Linked DNA regions of Homo sapiens: regions 2, 3, 4 and 5 are each linked to region 1. Evidence: promoter capture Hi-C in 16 types of primary human blood cells and fetal thymus (Javierre and others, 2016). All regions are on one chromosome and are shown on one strand. The core of a region is centred on a gene start or on the middle of the fragment in contact, and the rest is flanking DNA. Distances in the headings are between cores, read along the strand shown. Region 1 holds the start of ZNF22 (zinc finger protein 22). Region 2 overlaps ALOX5 (arachidonate 5-lipoxygenase). Region 3 overlaps ALOX5 (arachidonate 5-lipoxygenase). Region 4 overlaps ALOX5 (arachidonate 5-lipoxygenase). Region 5 overlaps ALOX5 (arachidonate 5-lipoxygenase).

What was found. Contacts are between HindIII fragments. The CHiCAGO score rates a contact against its expected background, and 5 or more counts as called.
Region 2: a fragment that was not itself captured here is called in contact with the fragment with the promoter of ZNF22 in region 1 in 1 of 17 cell types (fetal thymus); the score reaches 5.2 in fetal thymus.
Region 3: a contact is called between a fragment that was not itself captured here and the fragment with the promoter of ZNF22 in region 1, in 3 of 17 cell types (erythroblasts, endothelial precursors and fetal thymus). The highest score is 7.0, in erythroblasts.
Region 4: a fragment that was not itself captured here is called in contact with the fragment with the promoter of ZNF22 in region 1 in 1 of 17 cell types (erythroblasts); the score reaches 6.1 in erythroblasts.
Region 5: a fragment that was not itself captured here is called in contact with the fragment with the promoter of ZNF22 in region 1 in 1 of 17 cell types (M2 macrophages); the score reaches 5.1 in M2 macrophages.

Annotation. Positions count from the first base shown.
Region 1 is chr10:44,999,663-45,002,189 of GRCh38, reverse strand. ZNF22 (zinc finger protein 22) reads right to left here and starts at 1,267. Exons shown (of 2, transcript NM_006963.5): 1 at 1,212-1,267. LOC124902530 reads right to left here. Exons shown (of 3, transcript XM_047426129.1): 3 at 1-1,410. The coding sequence ends at 781. It overlaps ZNF22-AS1 (ZNF22 antisense RNA 1), which reads left to right and starts at 1,387. Exons shown (of 4, transcript NR_126421.2): 1 at 1,387-1,660; 2 at 1,774-1,904. RefSeq lists an enhancer at 651-1,151 and a silencer at 878-1,227. The HindIII fragment of the contact is 6,687 bases long and covers 1-2,527 here.
Region 2 is chr10:45,442,199-45,444,725 of GRCh38, reverse strand. It overlaps ALOX5 (arachidonate 5-lipoxygenase), which reads right to left. Exons shown (of 14, transcript NM_000698.5): 10 at 1,510-1,688; 11 at 1,189-1,310; 12 at 898-998; 13 at 440-610. LOC102724323 (a long non-coding RNA gene) reads left to right here. Exons shown (of 3, transcript NR_120674.1): 3 at 1-158. Among named protein-coding and RNA genes, the nearest start is that of ALOX5, 69 kb to the right of the region's middle. RefSeq lists enhancers at 1,017-1,785, 1,786-2,527. The HindIII fragment of the contact is 3,018 bases long and covers 1-2,527 here.
Region 3 is chr10:45,423,839-45,426,365 of GRCh38, reverse strand. It overlaps ALOX5 (arachidonate 5-lipoxygenase), which reads right to left. Exons shown (of 14, transcript NM_000698.5): 5 at 2,219-2,325; 6 at 1,234-1,406. Among named protein-coding and RNA genes, the nearest start is that of ALOX5, 51 kb to the right of the region's middle. RefSeq lists an enhancer at 1-499. The HindIII fragment of the contact is 2,778 bases long and covers 1-2,527 here.
Region 4 is chr10:45,403,873-45,406,399 of GRCh38, reverse strand. The region is part of intron 3 of ALOX5 (arachidonate 5-lipoxygenase); the gene reads right to left. Among named protein-coding and RNA genes, the nearest start is that of ALOX5, 31 kb to the right of the region's middle. The HindIII fragment of the contact is 611 bases long and covers 960-1,570 here.
Region 5 is chr10:45,377,202-45,379,728 of GRCh38, reverse strand. The region is part of intron 1 of ALOX5 (arachidonate 5-lipoxygenase); the gene reads right to left. Among named protein-coding and RNA genes, the nearest start is that of ALOX5, 4.2 kb to the right of the region's middle. The HindIII fragment of the contact is 543 bases long and covers 999-1,541 here.

The sequences.
Region 1 (2,527 bases), core at 18-2,517:
GAAACAATTATTCTGGGTTTCTTTGCATACAAACATATAAAGCAAATAAATGAAAACAAAAACATAATTTTTCTTGCCTTCCTTTCATCTTATTGTATAATTGAGACTTTAGGTCCAGGACTTTATCTGGATATTTAATAATTACATCAGCTGTAATTATGGTCAGCGTAAGAGTAAGCCGCATATAACACAAGATTACAGTTAGGACTACCCACTCCTTAACTTAAGCAAATATTTACAGAACATCTACCACACAGGAGACATTGTGTTAGGTACATGGTGTTGGTGTTGCTTTTTTTTTTTTTTAATAACTATAATGGTCATTATACATAAAAGCACACGCATTTAATACAATGGAAGTCAGATCTAGTCAGAAACTCAGACTGTCAAATCCACCTACGGATGAGGCAATCATACTAGTATGTGCCAGACACTGTGTAACTTGATTCTGTGCTAGCTCTTTAATTCTCCTGGCACCTTTATGCAGTTATTTCCGTTTTAAGTTAAGGAAACGAGGGCACAATGCTAGAAGGCACTGGCCGGGTTCCCAGACCCTAGCAGTTTGACTCCAGAGCCTGTACTCTTAGTGGCAGCCACATCTTCCATTGCTCAGTCCAGCGCGGCGACCCGTGCTTTGCATAGCTCCCCAGCAGGGGCAAGCACGAAGTTAAACCTGAGTGACAGAAGCTGCTGTTCTTGCACACCCAGCTAACTGGAATGTGCCTCAGTTTCCTCGTAAAATGGGGAGGGTAATGATAAAGTGGCAACACCATCAAGATGTTAGAAGTTGCAATGAGTCTGAATCTGAAAACCGCTCAGAGCAGCCCTGTGCTGCCTAAGCATTTGTTCCACGTATCTAGTCCTCGAACGCTCCGAGCGACGGAAGGGGCCGGGGCTGCTGCTCACCCGCCCAGTTCCACCCGCCGCGGGCCGCGCCTCGCCCGGGCCCCCAGTCCAAGCCTCCCGTTCCCAGCACTCCGCCGGCCGCTCCTCATTGACCCGGCCCGCCCGCCGCGCAGGCCGCGGCCCCACCCTGGGCCCGCGTGGCCCTCCCGCCCCCGCCCGGCGGCCAGGCCCTGCCCGGAGGCGGGAGACGCAAGCCACGCCATCGCCCGGGCCCGCGCCGCCCTCGTTGCGGCCAGCGCGCTCCCGAGCGGACCCGAGTATCCGACGCAGGCCCCGAGCGCCCCAAGTGCCCCAATCCCACTCACCGCGCGGGACCAGCCACCACTCTGGCTCGCTGGGCGCCTCCCGCGCCGCCGGAAGTGAGGGCCTCGCCGCGCTCTGGCGCCGCCGCGGTCGCTCTAGGAAAGTGGCGGAGCGACCCTCTATGGTCCCGGGCCCACCCGAAAGCGTTGTTCGTTTCTTCCTGTGGTTTTGTTTTCTCCTCCCCCCAACTCGGAAGGCGTCCTGTGACCCCCGGGACCTCAAGAGCTGTAACCGCCCCTGTGTGTGGTCGAGGCTTTTGAAACCAAACTCTAGCCTCTCCAACCTAGAAACTGCATACTTTCCACAAATTTTGAGATTTTTGAGACCCTGGTACTTTTCACGAAGTCACCTTAATTATCACCAAAAAGCTCCTGCAAGATGGGAGTGGTTATACTCCATTTACAGGAAAGGAACCAAGGCTCAGAGAAGAAATGTGCTCCGTTCACCGTGTGTAAGCGGACGACCCAGAATTGGAATGGTTCTTTGTGGCTCCAAAGTCTGATTTCAACACACCCCTTTTGTTGCTCATTAGTAATGATCTCTCTTTGTTCTTATTCCTTCCAGGCTCCTCCTCAGCCATCCTGGCCGTGCTCAGTCATCTGACCAGCTGACCTCCGTGTTCCCCCACTCCCTGGGGAGCTCCTCCGCCTTTTGGCTTCCAATGCTATTGCTGCATGCTGAAGACTCCCGCATTGGTAACTCCAGTCTGACTGTGGGACATAAATGTTATTGAACTTTAGACTTGTATATCGAACTGATTACTCAAGAGCTGCATTTGCATGTGTAATGGACATCCCAAACCTAACATACCCCCCAAATGAATTCCTGATATCTACCTAACCTGTTCTTGCAACAGTCTTCTTCCCAGGGATGGGTGAAGATCCCATCATCTTTCCAGTTGCTCAAGCCAAAAACCTTGATGTCACTGTTGTCTCTTCTTTTTTTCATCCAAAATTCACCTGTGATTTATCCACAAATTCTGTCGGCTTCATCGTTAAAATATATTCATTATCAAGCCACTTTCAACACTTCCACTGCTATAACCACCAAGCCACCTTCATCCACCTTCTGGATTATTATATTGGCTTCCAGACGGGTTGCCCTACAGTCTATTCACGGCCCCAGAGTAATCCTCTTAAACCTAAGTTAGATCATGTCATTCATTTGTTCAAAACCTTCAAAGGCTTCCCAACTTATTAGAGCAAAGCCAAGGACCTCGCAGTGGCACCCGATGCCTCTCATGATCTGTCTCTTTAGTTCTTTATTGTGTCTGCAGTGCTGAAAACAGTGCTCAGCAGGGAACAGACACTCAGTAAAT
Region 2 (2,527 bases), core at 21-2,520, 440 kb before region 1:
CCATTCTATGCAGTACTGAGCTACCCCAAAGCGGGTGCATCCACGAAGACACACCGGATTCAGTTGTTAGGTTAAATGAGATGCACGTGTCCGGAAGGAACCCAGGAAACTCTTGGTCATTCCCTCTGGAGTACCAGGGTAAAACACATGTGCAAGAACTTTGTCAATAGCTGGGGGGAGGGGGCGTCACACACGACCCTCTGGTGACAGTGAGCAAAGCCTGGGCTGTGTGCTCTCCTGCCCTGCACACCCTGAGCTCTGTCCAGGCTGAGGCCGGGGGACCTGGTGGCGGCTGCAGCCTTCTGGGCCCTTCCAGCCTTGGAAGTCAGGATTCCTTTGCTCCAAGTGAGCCTTGGGGCCCGAGTCACAAAGCCCTGAGGCTGAGGAACCGCTTAACCTGGGGTGACCTGGGGCTGTGCCCCGCCCTGCCCAGCTTCACCTCGTTTTCCTGGAACTGGCTCAGCGCCCACACTGCACCCAGATGCCAGCAGGAGCGGCCGCGGTCGGGCAGCGTGTCCACGATCTGCTCAATGGTCACCACGCCCTTGGCAGTCGGTGGCGGGGCTCGCATGGTTGGGGGCGCATTGGGGATCCAGGAGCACCAGTCGTACTGCGGAGACGACCGCCAGCAAGCGTGGGCACCCCCGAAGCCCTGCTGCCCAGCTGCCCCCTGGGCCCCGTCCTCCCCGTGCCCCCCAACTCCAGCGGGCCCTGCAGTCCGTCCATCCTCTTTCCCCGCGGCCAGCGCCCTTGGCTGAGCGGGCAGAATCCATCCTGCAAGTCCCGTGCCAGGCCCCGAGGCTGTCCGAGGGTGCAGTACGCGTGCAGAACCGGGGCGGGGGAGGAGGCAGCGGCCTTGAGAAGGGAGCCCTGCCCAGCGGGCCCGGCCCTGCCTACCTGGCCGAAGTTGACCGCGGCGTGCTGGGCGGAGGCGGTGAAGATCACCACGGTCAGGTACTCCGACAGCTGCTCCCGGCTCTTGACCGACTTGGGGAAGCCTAGGGTGGAACCACCGGCGGGCTGAGGCCCAGTCCCTGAGGACCCCAGGGCCCGGCGCCCACCCCGTGCCCGGATTCCCTGCCCCAAGGCCGGAGGGCACCCTGGGCAGGACACCCCGGAGGGGTGGCGGAGGGGCCAGCGCTGCCGACTGCGGGGGAGCCGGGTCCGGAGACGTCCCGGAGGCCCTACCTGAGGACTTGCGGCCCCGCATGCCGTACACGTAGACATCGTTCACGAAGTCCTGCAGCTCCGGGTCCTCCTCCACCACCTGGTCGCCCTCGTAGTAGATGTCTACCACCTCGGCCGTGAACCTGGCTCAGGGGGCGCAGCCGGGGTGGGCGACCCAGCCAGGTCTGCGGAGCGGTGCCCGGCGGCAACCCCCTCACGGACGCTGGGACTCCCCCACCCCGTCCCCATTCAGCGCTAGCGGTGGAGGGGCCAGGCCCGCCCCAGGTAGTCAGGCAGGGGTCCCGGCTCCTCCCCCAGGACCACCGCCCCGCGGGCGCTCACGTCCTGATGGCTTCCCACACCAGGAGCCCGTCGTCCCGGTAGAAGTAGTAGGGGATGTCTTCTTTGCTCTCCATGCCCCGGGCCTTGATGGCCTCGGGAAAGCACAGGGAGGCATAGGTCAGGTCCTTCATGGCCCTCTGCACCATCTGCACGTGCCCACCGCCCCCTGTGGCGTTGGCCTGGAGTGGGAGGTAGAGTGCCCTGAGCGGGTGGCTCCTCCCACAGCTGTCCAGACCCATCCCTGAGGAAATGTGCCAGGGGAGGCGAGGAGGCCAGGCAGGCAGAGGTGCAAGCCCTTGTCCTGTGAGATGGGGGAGGGATGTTTAACGCAGAGAATGACAAGGGCAGCCGGGTGGAGAGGTGCTAGGGAGGAGCCTCCCGCCCAATCCAATGCAAGGGACTGAACCGTGGGGCTGCAGAGTACAAGAGGGAAGGGTGCGCTCCCAGCCACAGGAGGGCAGCAGGCGTGGGCAGGTGTGTGGGGGACCCCAGCACCAGCGGGCCTGGGCTGTGAAGTCTGCTCTAGTGCTGAGCACACGACCCTCAGTCATTGCTCTCAGTGACCCTCAGTTTCCAGGACCCATGCAACTCTGTTGAGGGCCTGTTGTGTGCTCAGGTGAGGGCTGGAGAGACCCACAAGGAGGGATCCTGGTCCTGATCCCGATCCCGGCTTCTGAGTGATGCAGACACACTCACAAGCTCACTGGCACATATGTGTGTCCACGTGCACACACACACATGCAAATACACCCAGGGGGCTGGGCTGTCGGTGCCACAGAGGTTTTGAAGAAGGACTTGGGTGCTGGGGTGCCAGAGATTGGTCCACGGTGGGCATTCAGCCCAAGCAGGACCAACCAGAGCTGCCCCCCAGCACTTTCTGTTTAGATGCGGCTGGGAGATAATGGCCACATGAGAACCTGAGGTGGAGCTACTATGATGAGCTCCTGTGCCCTCTCCCATGGGGGCCTGTCTGCAGCAGGAGAGTGTGATGCCAACACAGGTGAAAGAGACAGAAAGA
Region 3 (2,527 bases), core at 12-2,511, 420 kb before region 1:
CAAAGGAAAGGTGACTCATAACCCACGTGCCCTGGAGGTGGCCGGGACTCCCAGTGGGAGGCTGATGCCCTGCCAGGTGCTGAGGATGGCCACTCCTTGGCTGCTGGGTGCAGAGATGGCTGCTCAGAGTCTTCCAATTCTAGGATTCTATATGGCTTAAAGTTCTATGATCTCTGACTTGAAGTTTGAAACCTATAGCCACCAAATCAATGTTACTACATCTAGCAATTCAGTCCACTCAGGAACACAGATGCTCTCTCAGTGTGTGGGGGATTGTAACTGTCAGCTGTTCACATGACCAGGAAGTGTTCTGGGCCTGGTTGGGTGCAGGAGGAGGAGGAGGTTAGGAAACACTGCCTGCACTGGGGCAGGAGACTTGCCCAGGGACTTCAGCTGGGTGGGTGGCCCTCTAGATTCAGGTGGGCCAGGTACTGGGGCTGTAGGTTTATCTCTAAAGGGCACCAACCATCCCTCTCCAACTAGGGCCTCAGGGTAAGCTGAGCTCAAAAGACTGGAAGCAGCAGAGGCCACCTGGACACCTGGGGATAGGCAGCAGGGCCTGGGTGGCAGGAGGCCCCATCACGCTGGATCCATGGGGAAGAGGCAGGCTGATGGGCCAGCGCCTGTTGCTGAGCCCCACCAGATCCAGGTGGAGTTGGTTTGAACTTCTTCTGTCTCAAGACTAGGTCAGCCTTGCAGCCGGAGGCAGCTGAGTCTGCAGGTGAGGGTGGGGAGGAGGGTGCGACAGGAGCATGGGCAGCAGCATTTCTAACGAGAAAATCAACCATTCTGTTGGGTTTCTCCTCGTGCCCCTTTTTTATTCTCACACAAGGTCTGCTTCTTTCTCCAGTGTTCTCCCCTTTGCAAGGTGGGTGACAACTGATGACCTTGTGTGTAAAGCACCTGTCACAATGCCTGTCCCACCACAGGCCCCTAATCAAGGGTAGCTCCTGTAATTATTGATACTGATAGTGAAAATATTGACATTATGTTCCCAGACTCGAGCATCATGGAGAAACATTCCCCGCAATTCCTCCTCTGATGTTGCACAAGACAGTCTGCATAATGCCCAGGACCCTGGCTGACACTGCTGCCAGGAAAAGGAAGCGGCTGCTGTAGGCCAGATGGGCCTGCAGTTAGCGTCTTGGTGGCCTATGAGCACTGGCCAGGAGGAACTGGCTTCCACCTGACAGACTGTGACCTTGGCCACTTCCCCAGCCCATCAACCCCTACCTGGACCTCCTGCTCCAAGCTGAGCTGCCGCTCCAGGCTGCACTCTACCATCTCCGTGGTCACCGGGAGCTTCTCGGGCAGCTCTGTGCAGCGCCGGATCAACACAGGGTTGCAGCCATTCAGGAACTGGTAGCCAAACATCAGGTCTTCCTGCCAGTGATTCATGACCCGCTCTACCAGGAGAAAAGCGAGGCCCACCCTGAGCTCTGAGTAGAGGGCAGCCAGGGCCATGGCCCTCCTGACCTCACCTAAGAGCAGAGTCCCTGCTTGGTCTCCTCTCCCGAGTGCTCCCTGGATGGGCACAGCTCCAACTGCTGCCCCCTGCCCATCACTGGGTCAGGCTGTGGCACCAACTCATCATACCTGAGCTGGCCCTTCGTGGCTCAGAAGCCTCCTGGAGCACTCAGGTCCTTCAGCCCAGCATGGAGTGTCCAGGATGGAAGAAGGAGGGCGTGGAGGAGAGTCCCTGGGGGCAGTTTGCCAAGTTTGGTTCCCCATGTCCTGATTTCAGCACCTCTTCTTGTCCAGCCATTCCTGCCTTCCTAACGTCCTTCCCATGCCATGACTGGCCACTATGAAGCTAGTGCTCTCATCAAACACATCCTAGTCCAAAGGAACCCAAAGTTGCTTTTGTGTAAATACCTAAAACACAAGCCAAGTTCTGCCTTTGCTCTGTTCAGAAGCACAAATGATTGATTTGTGCCAAGAAAAAGTTCTGATACTTTTGAGACTTTTGATAGTGAAATGAGGTTGAGGGTGCTCGAGCTTGAATATCTGAGGAGGAGAAACCTCTGGGCACAAGGGTGACCACAGTGATGGTAAAAGGTGTGGAGTGTAGGGGGTGCTGTCCAGGGTGGCATGGTGGCAGCGAGGCCCCCATGCTGCAGCAGGCAGGAAGGCCCTTGTCAATTTCCCGGCAAGTATCAGACAGGAGAGCAGCATCCCCTGTCCCCAGCACCACTTGGGCCCCCAGAGGCACACTCACCAGAAATAGTGTTGCTGATCTTGACAAAGATTTTCTCAAAGTCGGCGAAGTCATTCCAAGAAGACTGGAACATGTGCATGAAGCGGTTGATGAACAGGTTCTCCATCCTGCAGACCAGGAGAGAGGTCACCTTGCGCACACTAGCCATGCCTCCCTCTGCAGAGCCCCTTCACACCAAGCTCTCAGGGGTCCTCACAACCCCCGCCCCCTCCAGGCAGCTCTGCAGAGGTAGGTGACTGGCTTTTCAGAACCAGGTCAGAAACTGGCATCTATACGGGATGCTGTTCTACTGCACCTCACCTGTCGAAG
Region 4 (2,527 bases), core at 16-2,515, 400 kb before region 1:
GTAACAGACATTAACATTTATTAGAAAGTTATGATAACCAAAAGCTGGTGCTGGGGTCTCGAGTAGAAAAATAGGCTAACACATAAAGTGCGGAAACAGACCCAGAGACTATGTATACATAATACAAAACTCGCCAACACTTATCCAGTGCTTTCTATGTGCCTACTACTATTCTCTGTGTTTTCATGGTTTAACCTATTATCTCAAACCCCTAAAAGGAAGGCACTGTTATTTCCCTCATTTTACAGATGAGGGAAGTGAGGCACAGACAGATTAAACAACTTTCACAGGACTGGAGAAAGTGCCAGTAAGTGTGAGTTGAGCCCAGACACTCGAATCCAGAGCTCATGACTGCCATCCTATGCCAGCTTGTACCGTGGGTATCATCATCCCTGTCATCCAAGTCAGGAGGAAAGACATCATCCCTGTCATCCAAGTCAGGAACGAATGCTACCGGGAGAGTTCCACCCAGGTATGTATGAAAACACGTGGCAGGAGTGGGGCATGGTGGCGCACGCCTGTAGCCCCAGCTACTTGGGAGGCTGACGTGGGAAGATGGATTGAGCCTGGGTTAGTTTGAGGCAGCAGTGAACCATGATCATGCCACTGCACTCCAGCCTAGGAAACAGAGCAAGACTCTGTCTCAAAAAAAAAAAAAAAGGTAGATGAATGAAAGCTCTAAACTCAAAGGGGAAATTATAAAAGTATTAGACAAAATTACGGGGGAAGTATTTGTGTAACACTGGGATGGAAAGGGTTTTCTTAAGCAAAGGAGGAAACCCAAAAGTTATAGATGTAAACAATACATAGTTAATAAAATAAAGAACTAAAATCTCCTGTGGCAAAAGCAACAGAAGACAAATAATAAATGCTATACATATGTAACAAACGGATACTATCCTGATATAGAAAGAGCTCCTTTAGATTAATAATTGAAAGAACAATAGGGAAAAAAAGCTTATAAATAGGCAATGCAGTGATGCTTATTAGTGGTCAGGGGAGTGCAGACTAAAACAACCACAAGGTCTTAGGGATTTTTAGACTGTCAAACAAGGTCATCGGGTACTGACAAATGTATGGATGGGCAAAAGTATCTTTTCATACACAGCTGGTAGGACCGCAAATTACGATACAATTTTGTGAAAGGATTTTTGTCGGTATTTCTTAAGATGAAAAAATGCTGATTTGTTCCAGCAATCTGAGTTCTGGAAATGGATCTGCCATTAATTAAAGCACCAGTACATCAAGATGTTTGTACAAGGTTGGTTCTGGCAGCATTGTTTGTACTGCAATACCCAAAACAAACAAACACATCTACAAATGGGAAATGAACTGAACGTCAGTGAATAGGGGAATGGCTAAGTAAATTATGGTGCATTCCCAGAAGGCAAGAAATAGTAGCAGTTTAAGAAGGGGAAAATATATGAGATACTATTTCACACGCAAGAATGAAAACATCTGAAGATGCGAAGTGTTGATGATGCAGGGAAACAGTGAATCTCAGAAACAGTTACTGGGGTGTCTACTGGCAGAATGCCTTTGGAAAACAATCAGCAATATCTAGAAAGCTTAAAAACACGTGGTCTGCAACCCTGCAACTCTACTTCTTGGAATATTCCCTACAGTAACTCTTCCATGAGAGCACAGAGAGATGTGTGAGAAAGCTCACTGTCGCTTGGTTTGCAACAGCTAGAAATTAAAGACAGCCCGCCTGCCCATCAGCAGGAGAGCGGACGAGCGCATGGGTTATTCAGATACTGATATGCCATGAAGAAGTTAACTGCATGAACCACATCTATCTGTGTCAACCAGATCCTCTTCAATACTTAGTGATGAGTGAAAAGTGCAGGTCACATAATGATTAGATTAAATTATATCGATTAACAAACACCTACACTTTGCCATTTACTGCTGTGTGTGAGTGTGCATGTAACACAGACAGATGTGGTCACAGTGGGAGAGCACAAGCTGTGGGCTATGACCTGGGTCTGCTTCTCCTTCTCCCTGCGTGGCTGAGTGAGTAAGGAGGGCCTGCAAGAAGCGCCAGCTTTCTGACATAGTGTGGACTATTCTTAGTCATTGCTTTACTTCCAAACTCTGATCTGGAAGCCTGAGAAATCTTCTGAGAAAGAGGAACTCCAAGATTGTGCAGACAGTGCAAAGTTCAGTGTTTCCTGAACGGAAGCAAAGGAGGGTTTCTGAAAAGGACAGATGAGTGGAAGGAGGAAGAAAAAAATGATTAAATCTAAGAAAGGGGGAAACGATCTCACCAGAAGCCCCCTGCTGCAAGATTATGATAATGTTAAGTAGCTCCCAGATAATTGGGCTAGTTTGTGTTATCTTAGATGAGTAGATAGCAAAGTCTAATTAGAGCCCCACTAATTCATACTAAAGTGTTAGTGGCTTATAACAAATTAAATGAATTTTATGGGCATTTTATCTTAACCCAGATTCACAGGCCAGAAGTGCTCTGAGAACTGGCTGCAGGGGCTTTGCCATAGGTGTCTGAAACAGGGAGGGAAGCCAA
Region 5 (2,527 bases), core at 21-2,520, 380 kb before region 1:
ACACCATCCTGGGTGGCCTCCTTTCTCCAGAGGCACAGGCCACCGGTTGTGTGCATCAGAACCACCAGTGCCCCTTCCTGAATCCAGGGGGTTGCAGGGCACCAGGCCCCACACCGCCTGTGAGCTAGCATGGGCCCCTGCGTCACGGCCACTTCGTGACTACATGTGCCAATCCGAGTAACTGGAGCACACATGGGAGGAGGAAACTGAACCTGTGACCTCAAACTCCTTCACTCAAAGCCCAGAAGGAACTCCTGAAAGGCTGGAGACAGGGCTGTGAGGACAGAGGGAGAGTGGGAGGCATTCTGAATGCTGGTGGGGCAGGCAGAGCAAGTCTGTGTGCGGTGAGGACTGAGGGGCGGCCACCAGAGGCCCGGGCCTGGTCTGAGTGTGGCTGCTGCAGGGGAAGTAGCTTTCCTATGGCTCTGAGGGGCTGGAGAGGGAGGAAGGTGTCCCCAGGGGATAGATGACAGGAAAGCTGGGGTGGGGTGGGAGGAGCTAACAGGGACACTCTCATGGGAGGGAGGCTCCCAGTACCTTGGACTAAGAGGGGAGGGAGATGGGCTGAGGAGGCATTCCAGGACTGGGCAGGTCCCACAGGGAGGGCCCGATGTCTACCTGGGGGTGACGACCCACACGAAGAGACTGAGCAGCTTCTCTGAGGGAGTGGACAGTGGGGTGACCCTCCAGCACACCTGTGGTGCAGTCACAGGGGACTGGGACACTCCTGGCCCCCTGCCCTACCTACACCTGCAGGCACCTGGTGGAGAGCCCCTGAGTTTCACTTGGGGTGAAATCACTAGGCAGATTTACAAGGACTCCATCTGCCATCTGACAGGGACTTCCACAGCAGGAGGGGGCCAGGCCTGCAGTCTGGCTGGTCTATGGCCAGCCCAGCCACTTTCCTGGTGCTGGCTTCAAGCCTGAATATGATAAGAGGTGAACAAGGGGCAGAGGGCTCCAGCCTTGACCCAACTCAGGGAGTAAAAGACAAAGCTTGATGGCTGTGGTTCTAACATCCCAGGGGCCACTAATGGAAGAATGACAGATAAAGGCCTCCTTCCAGGAAAATACCAGGGTCACATGTGTCAAACTGCAAAATATCTTCGGAAGGTTTGTGGAACTACAATGGCCACCTTCCTCCCTCCTCTCTGGGCCAAGTACACTGGGCTGATGCTATATTTGTCTATTTGCTGTGACACATTAAATTCTCAGGTGACACACTGAATTATGGTGGGCACTATCAACAGTGGACACCCCCCAACAGGCCCTCAGGAAGCACTGGGCCTGGGAATGGCCGAGCGAGTGATTATCCTGCTTTACAGATAGAAACTGAGGCTCAGAGAGCAATGGTGGCCTCAAGATCAGAACCTACACCTGTGTGATGGCCAAGCCCAGGTTCCTCCCACAGTTCCCCAAGGCCACATCTTGAGAAAAGCCCTGAACCGGAAGCTAGAAGGCCCAGCTTTGAGCCCTGGTTTGTACCCTGGATGGAGTGTAAAGGGGCAATGTGGAGTGGCATGGAAGGACAGGGAAAAGCTTCATAAGAGGGTATTTCAGGCAGCTTTTAGGGGCTGATCAGATTTCAGAGGGCAGATGAGTAGGAGGATGGGCATGGGTAGCACATTTCAGATGTGGGGAACTGGGAGGGCAGGGTCCCCGGGGGATTCACACGTGGGAGGAGGAAGGCTGGACACAGTTTCTGGGGACAGAAGTGGGTGGCGTGGTGGTGCAGATGCTGGAGAGAAACAAGGGAAACCTGCAACTCACCGGCCTCATTTCACAAGGGGCCACTTTGCTGATTTTGCTTGTTGCTTTTAACTTTTTATTGGATATGTAGTTTTAAAGCTTTTGAATATTTCGGCAAAGAGTCAGTTGGTCAGTTTTCATGTGAGCTTTCTATCAGCATTTTAGGAAAGTTTTCATCTGTCTTTCATCAGATCTCTGCTGTTGCTGGGACAGGGAGACGGATCTCTCTGCGGAAGCAAGGATGTGTGCCCCACCCCCAGACTACCCATCTTGGAGGGGGACTAATGAGGGGCTGTGGGAGGAGGAAGCTGTAGAGCAGAGAGGAAGATTGGGGGCCAGACAAAACAGAGACTCGGGATGAGAGAGGGGGAGGCTATGGGGAAGAGCTGAGGAAAACAAGGGACGGAGAGAGGGATTGGGGTAGTGGATAGGGAGACCAAGGGGCAGAGAAGGGGGAAAATGTGGGACAGAGAGCCGGAGATTGAGGGAGCAGAGAAGGGGCCTCTGAGAGGTGGCTGGAAGACAGAGTGTAGAGGAAAATTCAGAGCAAAAAAGAAGGGAGAGTTGTAGGGTAGAGAGCAGAAACGGGGGGCATTTAGGGAACTGGGAGCAGGGGAAGGAAGAGGAGGCAGAAGAGGGGGCAGAATGTAGGGAAAAGATGGCTCAGAGGGGGAGACTGGGAGATGAGAGACGGATTGAGGGTCATACCAAAGAAATATTTATGCTCCACTAATATATTCCCATTCACAAGAAGGAGGTATTCTAGAATTAATTTTTC